Linked DNA regions of Homo sapiens: regions 2 and 3 are each linked to region 1. The links are contacts of gene promoters, found by promoter capture Hi-C in blood cells and fetal thymus (Javierre and others, 2016). All regions are on one chromosome and are shown on one strand. The core of a region is centred on a gene start or on the middle of the fragment in contact, and the rest is flanking DNA. Distances in the headings are between cores, read along the strand shown. Region 1 holds the start of ITIH2 (inter-alpha-trypsin inhibitor heavy chain 2). Region 2 overlaps LINC00709 (long intergenic non-protein coding RNA 709). Region 3 has its middle 32 kb from the start of LINC00709.

Region 1 (2,700 bases), core at 139-2,638:
GTCTCAAACTCCTGACCTCAGGTCATCCACCCGCCTCAGTCTCCCAAAGTGCTGGGATTACAAGTGTGAGCCACCGCGCCCAGCTGCCATTGGGTCTTAATTCTCCAGAAACAGTATCTCAGTCAAGAATGCAAAGCTGTGGCAGGATTTTTCCATGAGGGGTCCACTGAGGCACTCACTGGCCAAGGTGGGCGCTCAACTAGTCCAACCTAGGCAAGGGAGGGGAGAATCTGTTTTCTCCCTTCCATTATTTCAGAAGTTATGTTTCTCCAGCAGACACACGGCTGTGCAATTTCGAAGACTGAGGGGAAACTAGGGAGGAAAATGCAGAAAACTCTCTGTTGCATGCCCTGTGAATTGGGCTTTAAATGTAGCAAGGAGCTCCAGGATCCCAGAAGTTGGCCTGGGGTGCTTGGTCCTGAGGATAAGACAACCTCCCTTGTATTGTAATTCTGCCCACAGCTGGAGCTTCCTATTTCAGTGTTGCATCCAAGAAGTTACATTTCCTGTTTGTTGCAAGAAAAATAGAATCTGACCAGGATGGAGGCTAGGCATGGGGGCTCACATCTGGAATCCCAGCAGTTTCGGAGGCTGAGGCAAGCAGATAGCTTGAGCCCAGGTGTTCAAGACCAGGATGAGCAACATGATGAAATCCCATCTCTACAAAAAATAGCCAGGCAGTGTAGTGCACACCTGTAGTCCAGCTACTCTGGAGGCTGAGGTGGGCAGATTGCTTGAGCCGGGGGAAGTTGAGGCTGCAATGAGCTTTGATCTCACCACTGCACTCCAATTCTGAGACTGGGGAGTATTGATTTGCCACTGACCTGAGCCCGGCTGATAGGGGCAGCAGGACAGACACTGTTACCTTAATCAAAGACATTCACGAAGCATTCTCACTGAAGATCTGCCCTAGTATCCTGCACAGCCACTTGCCTGGGTCTTTATAGGTAACAGGTAGACAGTCATCAAAGAGATAGGGGAAAACATGCACAATGAATTCTTTGCTCAGAAAAACCCTTCTGTGTCTTCTCCCACTTTTTCTAAATTTTTCCTGCTTTCATTTAGATCAAAGGATTTTGTTTCTTGGAATAGTTCTGCACTTGGTCCTTTAGAAAGGATGACAATTATCTGTAGGTCTCTCTGATTTTAAGATCAATAGAAATCAGCAAAAGCCAAAAAATAAAAAATAAAAATAAAATAAAAGCACACAAGCACATTCAAGCACATCCATCTGCCCCTGACTTGTCCTCACAGTAAGCAACTGCTTCTGACTTTGCTGTTTGAATAACCTCTGGGTGTTCGATCCACCCACACAGCTCAAGTTTGAGCTCCAGAACAAATATTTGTCCCAATTTTGAACAAAGTTAGAGAGTTTTTTCTTCTTTTTTCTTCTTTCTTAAAGCGAACTGTACTCCTCTGCTGTTCCTTTGAACTTGGTTCAGTAGGAAGAAGTGATATCCTCCCCAGACCATCTGCTTTGGGGAGCTTGGCAAAACTGTCCAGCAAAATGAAAAGACTCACGTGCTTTTTCATCTGCTTCTTTCTTTCTGAAGTATCAGGCTTCGAAATCCCCATAAATGGACTTTCTGAAGTAAGTACTTACAGATCACTCCTTGCTGTTGGCTTGTTCATGAGCTCAGTAAATCATCTATTGGAATCGCTATTCAATGGCCTTATTCTGTGTGTAATGGAAACTTAAGATAAAATTCATCTGAGTGCAAGTGTTTACTGTTATAATTACTGGAATGTATATTTACCTTTTAAAGCATTAACAGGTTTTGCATGAAAATTAAGTCAAGATCAATGGGCAGGCATCAGAGCGTAGCATTTATGGAGCAGAGCTGCTCACTCCTCACCTAAAAAATTGGGGGTAAGAATAGACCTAACCCAATGGTTTGCTTTGAGAATTAAATGACACAGTGTAAACTCTTCTAGCAGAGCGCCTGGACTAGTAAGTGCTTAATAATTACTAGCTGTTATGATGATGAAGAAATATTATCACTCTTTTACTAAGAGTATAAGAAAAGTCATTATCAAAGCACACTGTTTTTCATATCTAAGTGAACAGTGATATTTGTAATAAGAGCACTTTAAGTATTCCTATTAAAGCGGAAGATAGCAGGCAGGGTGGAAAAGTACAAGAATAATTCCCATGGAGTACAGGTCTCCACTTTTGTCCCTTAGCCATCTCCAATGTAAGGAAAGTCTTGGACTGAAAGTCTGTTTCTGAAAGTCATACAAGAGCTATTTTTATGCCAGAAAAGCGAAGCATGTTATGGGAACATCCCAGCAAATGCAAAGGCTTATAATACTTGCAGAGTGGATTACCTATAAAAATGCCAGAGAATATGACGGCATATTTACAAAGGGAAAATATCACTCTGTCTGCTTTGAAACTATCATATTTTCCAACACTTAAAAGCCACCAGAGTGTGTTAGAAATCTCAAATTGAAGCCAAGACATCCAAATGTGTTTGTGCTTTTTCAGTCATTTCTAACTGGCATTTCCTTTTAGAAAATACCTACATTTTTAACTTGGGGAGATGTATGGTTCATGTCTGTCCAGTCAGACACTGCAAATGCCTCCAGGGTCTACCCAGATACTTCCCCAGACACCCACCTAATCACTGGGTTGTTTTGATCTCTGTCTTACCACCTGCTGGCAAACTCAAAAATGAATTCCCATGTCCAACAAATGCG
Region 2 (2,700 bases), core at 176-2,675, 1.6 Mb after region 1:
ATGGAGTCTCACTCTTGTCGCAAAGGCTGGAGTGTAGCGGCGTGATCTCGGCACTCTGCAACCTCCACCTCCTGTGTTCAAGTGATTCTTCTTCCTCAGCCTCTTGAGTAGCTGGGATTACAGGCATGCACCACCACACCTGGCAAATTTTTGTATTTTTAGTAGAGACAGGGTTTTGCCATGTTGGACAGGCTGATCTTGAACTCCTGACCTCAGGTGATCCACTCACGTCGGCCTCCCAAAGTGCTAGGATTACAGGCGTTAGTCACTGCACCTGGCCTTCACGTCTAATTTTTAAAATAAGATCATGCTTCTAGCCAGTTCCTGTCTTTTGTCTATGACTCTAAGAAAGGAATATTAAGCATGTCACAAAGAATAGAATGTGTTTTACTCATAGAGTAATGCTATTGGAGTACGTAACAGAGAATATAAATTTGGTGTAATTTTTAATAGGGCTATTAAAATCATTTAAAGTAATATTTTATCTTATTAAAATCTCAAAATACATACTTTATCAAAATAAAAAATAAACTTTCTTTGACCCGGCAATCAAGTATAGTGAAATCTTTATGCAAAGTGATCTTCATTGCAGCTTTGATTTTAAGAGCAAAAGGCAATGTTATGTAGCTATTCAAAAGAATGTAACAGATCTGTAGGAAGTAACACAGAGATTTACTGATAATATGCTGAGCAAAAATGATTTCTGCAGAACAGCATGTACAGTATTATTTTATAGTTTTAAAAAGAATAAAAAGTATGTAAAATACACATGAATATTTATGTAGGGGAGTGAGGGAGGGTAAGCATCTGTGTGAAGGTTCATGCCTAACCTTTAAACACAGAGACTATCCAGAAACGGGTTAACTATAGAAGAGAGGGGAAGTAGAACACTTTACTTTTTTTGTTAACGTGCTTTACGGTATTTGAATTTTCAAAAATAAGCATGTATTAATTTTATAATCAAACATAAAGCTTCAAGCACACACTATGTTAAATGTGTTTGATAAATCCAGTGTTCAGGGTTATAATGCTTGCTTAGACTAACTGGTTTCACATGGGTACCTGTGACCAGCGTAAGGTCATTGCTAGGCAAAAACACTGTAATTTCTAGAAACAAATAGAACGTTCTACATACAACAAAAAATGTAAGTCATAGCATTTTGGAGATAATGCTGAATCTCATCAGGCACAGTCAACCAAAACCAGGTTCATTTCATTCTCAGAATTTCATCTACATTTGCCAGAGATTTTAAATTGAATAATGGACTGACTGTGCGTGAATGAAATGCATGCATTTCTTTTATATTTCTGAAATAGCAATACAGGCTGAGACCCCAGCGGGGGAGCAGGGGAGCTGGGGGTCTGGGCGACAGTAGAGGAATGGTGTTGTGTGAGATAGGGACTTAATGAGATAAGGGAATATGTATTTTTGTGAGGGGAAAAAACTTCATAACATTTTTCATATGAAACATACACAAGAATAATGGAATAGATTATATCTTATGAAATGTGGCCTACAGTAAGTTACTGTTGCATGTCTTCCTTCCATAGAAAAGGAATGAATTGGAGACATTCACTTATAATGAAAATTGTCTGTATTTTTCTCAATTGAGAGAGTTCATTGAGACTTCATAGAATAGTTTTATTACATATTACATAGGAAGGAAAAAACACAATTTTTTTGTTCCAATAACAACCTTTTATCTAGCTCGACAATGCACTTCCACGGCAGCTGGATCAAAAAAAAAGAGACTGCTGCAATTCAGAGTCAAAGTGGAGTTTCTTTTCGAAGTGGTCATCAACAGCTTTTAGCAAATGAAGGAAGGGCATATCTTTCCGGGGAAAATGAAGCACCCCTTTCTTTGGCCCAAATGATGGTGAAGCTTCTTTTGTTTATTGGTGATGTTTTTTTTTTTCTTTTGGTTTTTGTTTGCTGGTTTTTGTTTTTTGTTTTTTGTTTTTTTCCCAACCGTTCGTTAAAAAGAAGAAAATGAGAGAGAGGACAAAAATGTGAACGTTATGCTATTTAGTGGTCATGCTCTAGAGGTTTTGAAAAAATAGCCATCAGCAGATGCATCAAGATATGACAGGGTTGCACATTAACTATTTTCCTGTCATACCAAGAATTCTGGAATCTTGTATTTTATTGCAAGCTGTCATCTCACCCACATTTTCAAGGTGACCTCAAGTCTTCTAGGTTCTCCTTCTCAAACAATTCTCATGTTTCTAGATTTGAGCTCTTCTAAACACCTCTGAGTATGACCTGAAAAAGTTATTTCTCCTTAAAATATGTCCGACAACTTCTCCTATGACTACCCTTTTTAAACATTCAAAATGACAGTATTTCCACTAAAACCACCTCTTTAACTGATGTTCGAACTTGGATGTGGATACTCCTTTTGTAACATGGACGTATAGTAGATATCAGTGTGTCTGCTGCTTCTGTTTGTTGCTAAGGTTCATAGGGCATGTTCTCTTTTCCAATACTTTTTCCTGAAATACATTTTGTGATTTTTGTCATTGTTCCTTTGTCCAGGGATTCTTTAGGACAATTGTTTAAAATCTAAGCAGTTAAAGCCCGACATTTTGGCTCACGCCTATAATCCCAGCACTTTGGGAAGCCAAGGTGGGTGGATCACTTGAGGTCAGGAGTTCGAGACCAGCCTGGCCAACATGGTGAAATCCAATCTCTACTAAAAA
Region 3 (2,700 bases), core at 132-2,631, 1.6 Mb after region 1:
CAGATTTGGTGGTGGCAGGAGGAAGTCTCTCACAAGGAAAGAAGTGCTTCAAAAACTATAAGGAGAACAGAGAACCTCAAACATGTTGAGCAAAATATTTCAAGGTTCATATAGTGAGTTGGAAGTTGGTTAGTATGTTTCAAAAGAAGACATGCATGCGGCCAAGGATCATATGAAAAAAGCTCAACATCACTGACCATTAGAGAAATGCAAATCAAAACCACAAGGAGATACCATCTCACACCAGTCATAATGGCTACTATTAACAAGTCAAAAAAATACAGATTCTGGTGGGGTTGTGAAGAAAAAGGAATGTTTATACACCGTTGGTGAGAGTAAAAATGAGTTTAACCATTTTGGAAAACATTGTGGCGATTCCTCAAAGACCTAAAGAAATAAATATCATTTGACCCAGCAATCCCATTATTGGGTATACACCCAAAGGAATACAAATCGTCCTATTATTAGGACACACATACACATATATTAATTGCAGCACTATTCACAACACAGAATCAACATAAATGTCCATCAATGATAGACTGGATAAAGAAAATGTGGTATATATACACTATGGGATACTATGCAGCCATAAAAAAGAATGAGATCATGTCCTTTGAAGAGACATGGATGCAGCTGAGGCCTTCATCCTTAGCAACTCACACAGGAAGAGAAAACCAAATACCACATGTTTTCATGTATACCTGGGAGCTAAATGATAAGAACGTATGGACACACAGAGGGGAATGTCACACACTGGGGCCTCTCAGAGGGTGGAGGTGGGAGGAGGGAGGGAGAGGATCAGGAAAAATAACGAATGGGTTCTAGGCTTAATACCTGGGTGATGAAATAATCTGTACAGCAAACCCCCATGACACAAGTTTACCTGTGTAACAAATCTGCACATGTACCCCTGAACTTAAAATACAAGTTTAAAAAAAAGAAAGTTGGTGAGTGTGTCTTTTAAAATTTTTGAGGAAAGAATATGTGTTTTATATGGTCAATGATCTCTATGATGTGATACTCCATGTACTGCTCCGTACTGAGCCTTGAGCAGTCCCAGACTGCCTTCTACTTTCCATACCTCAATTCTGCCTGATAACTTTTTCAAAGGCATACATATGGGTATCTGGGATTAGAAAACATTGGTTTCTGAACCTTAATCTACTGCTAATACATTTTTCTCCTTGGTCTATCTGCATATAAATTACTTAAAATTTTGAACCCTATTTTGTCATTATCTAACTAGTGACACACGCTAACTAGTGGCAAAATAACATTCTGAGTAGAAACTCCATCACCTTACATGACTGATGTTTATTATATAATGTGACCTGATCATAATGACGTGTGATAGGAAAAACACTTATTTTTTAGGTACAGTCACTGCCATCATAGACATTGCCATTAGTATGCTTCTAAGAAGCATTGTTAATCAAGTGGCAACATAAGATATTGGAAAAATTATGGGCTTGGGTATCTATCCTAGCTCCACGTCTTACTTGCTGCATGGCTTAATTACTGAATTTTAGTATCCTCCTCTGTAGAGTAAGAAACATGGATGTTAAAGACACAAGCTACATGAAGCATAGAAATTGAAGGAGTACTTTATTCATGGCTATAAAATTAATATTAAACAGACTATTTTCAAATTTTATGGATTTAGTATTAGAGGGATTGGCATAAATGTCACTGGTGATTTGGCCGAGATATTAAAGTATTTATTTATCTAATCAATAGTTATTATTGCAAATAGAAACAAAGTAGTTATCTTTCACTGCTGCCCAAGGCAAGAAGTTAAGTTACTCCTATAGTGTAATTTAAATTTGTAAATTACATTGACTGCTACAATAAGTTCCCCAAATCATGGGACACTTACAAAAAGAAAAGGATAAATGGATAAAAAGCTACGATACTCGAGAATAAATATCAGTGTAACTTTTTTGAGAGGTCTGCCTTTCAGAAATTGCAAAAAAATTCTAATGATACTCATCTGTTTCAAAGAGAAATGACATGAAAAATCTCATAAAATGTTTCACAGATATATTACGTATTAATATCAGTTCTCATTTCCACGTAAGTATAATTTTGAAAGTACTCTTACACAAGATATCATATTCTAGTCACATAACATGTCTGTGAGTTTGGCAAAGCAAAATGATTATCCACATAGCACAGTAAAACTGCTGACTGGAGCTGGGGCTTATTTGCTCCTATTCCAATCCCTTTCCAATGTACCACAATGTCTTCTTCAACAGATAAACATCCATGTATTGCTAACAAATAGGGGACCACGGCCCCTATGAATCAATTTCTGCAGTTGATGTTGAGTGGGGACAGGGAAACTATGGAAGCTCCTCCATGGGCCAATTAGCTAATACCCAGTGAGTCTCTTGGCTAAATAGACTCTGATACCAGAGTAAAAGTCTAGCAAGAACAACTCTGGTGGGGTAAATGAGAAGGCACAGAACTGCCAGGAGGAGGTTAAAACCAAGAAAAAATGTTCTTGTATTGACCAGAAATATACTCACTTCAACATCTTCCTGATTCTGTCAAAATGAGGATTTGCTGCTGAACTTGGGATTGACTCACTGTGGGATGATTTTCAGGGCCTCTATTCCCATCAGTAGATTATTTCTTGGTGTGCCAATATTTATTCTGTTGTTGGAGGAATTGCTTGTAGCTGGTTGTCTCCATTTG

Evidence for each region. Contacts are between HindIII fragments. The CHiCAGO score rates a contact against its expected background, and 5 or more counts as called.
Region 2: a contact is called between a fragment that was not itself captured here and the fragment with the promoter of ITIH2 in region 1, in 1 of 17 cell types (endothelial precursors). The highest score is 10.4, in endothelial precursors.
Region 3: a fragment that was not itself captured here is called in contact with the fragment with the promoter of ITIH2 in region 1 in 1 of 17 cell types (M2 macrophages); the score reaches 7.0 in M2 macrophages.

The regions. Positions count from the first base shown.
Region 1 is chr10:7,701,928-7,704,627 of GRCh38, forward strand. It overlaps ITIH2 (inter-alpha-trypsin inhibitor heavy chain 2), which reads left to right and starts at 1,389. Exons shown (of 21, transcript NM_002216.3): 1 at 1,389-1,591. The coding sequence starts at 1,508. The HindIII fragment of the contact is 18,944 bases long and covers 1-2,700 here.
Region 2 is chr10:9,276,780-9,279,479 of GRCh38, forward strand. The region is part of intron 1 of LINC00709 (long intergenic non-protein coding RNA 709); the gene reads left to right. The region is part of intron 3 of LOC101928272 (a long non-coding RNA gene); the gene reads right to left. Among named protein-coding and RNA genes, the nearest start is that of LINC00709, 2.5 kb to the left of the region's middle. The HindIII fragment of the contact is 911 bases long and covers 971-1,881 here.
Region 3 is chr10:9,305,863-9,308,562 of GRCh38, forward strand. No RefSeq gene overlaps it. Among named protein-coding and RNA genes, the nearest start is that of LINC00709, 32 kb to the left of the region's middle. The HindIII fragment of the contact is 7,013 bases long and covers 1-2,700 here.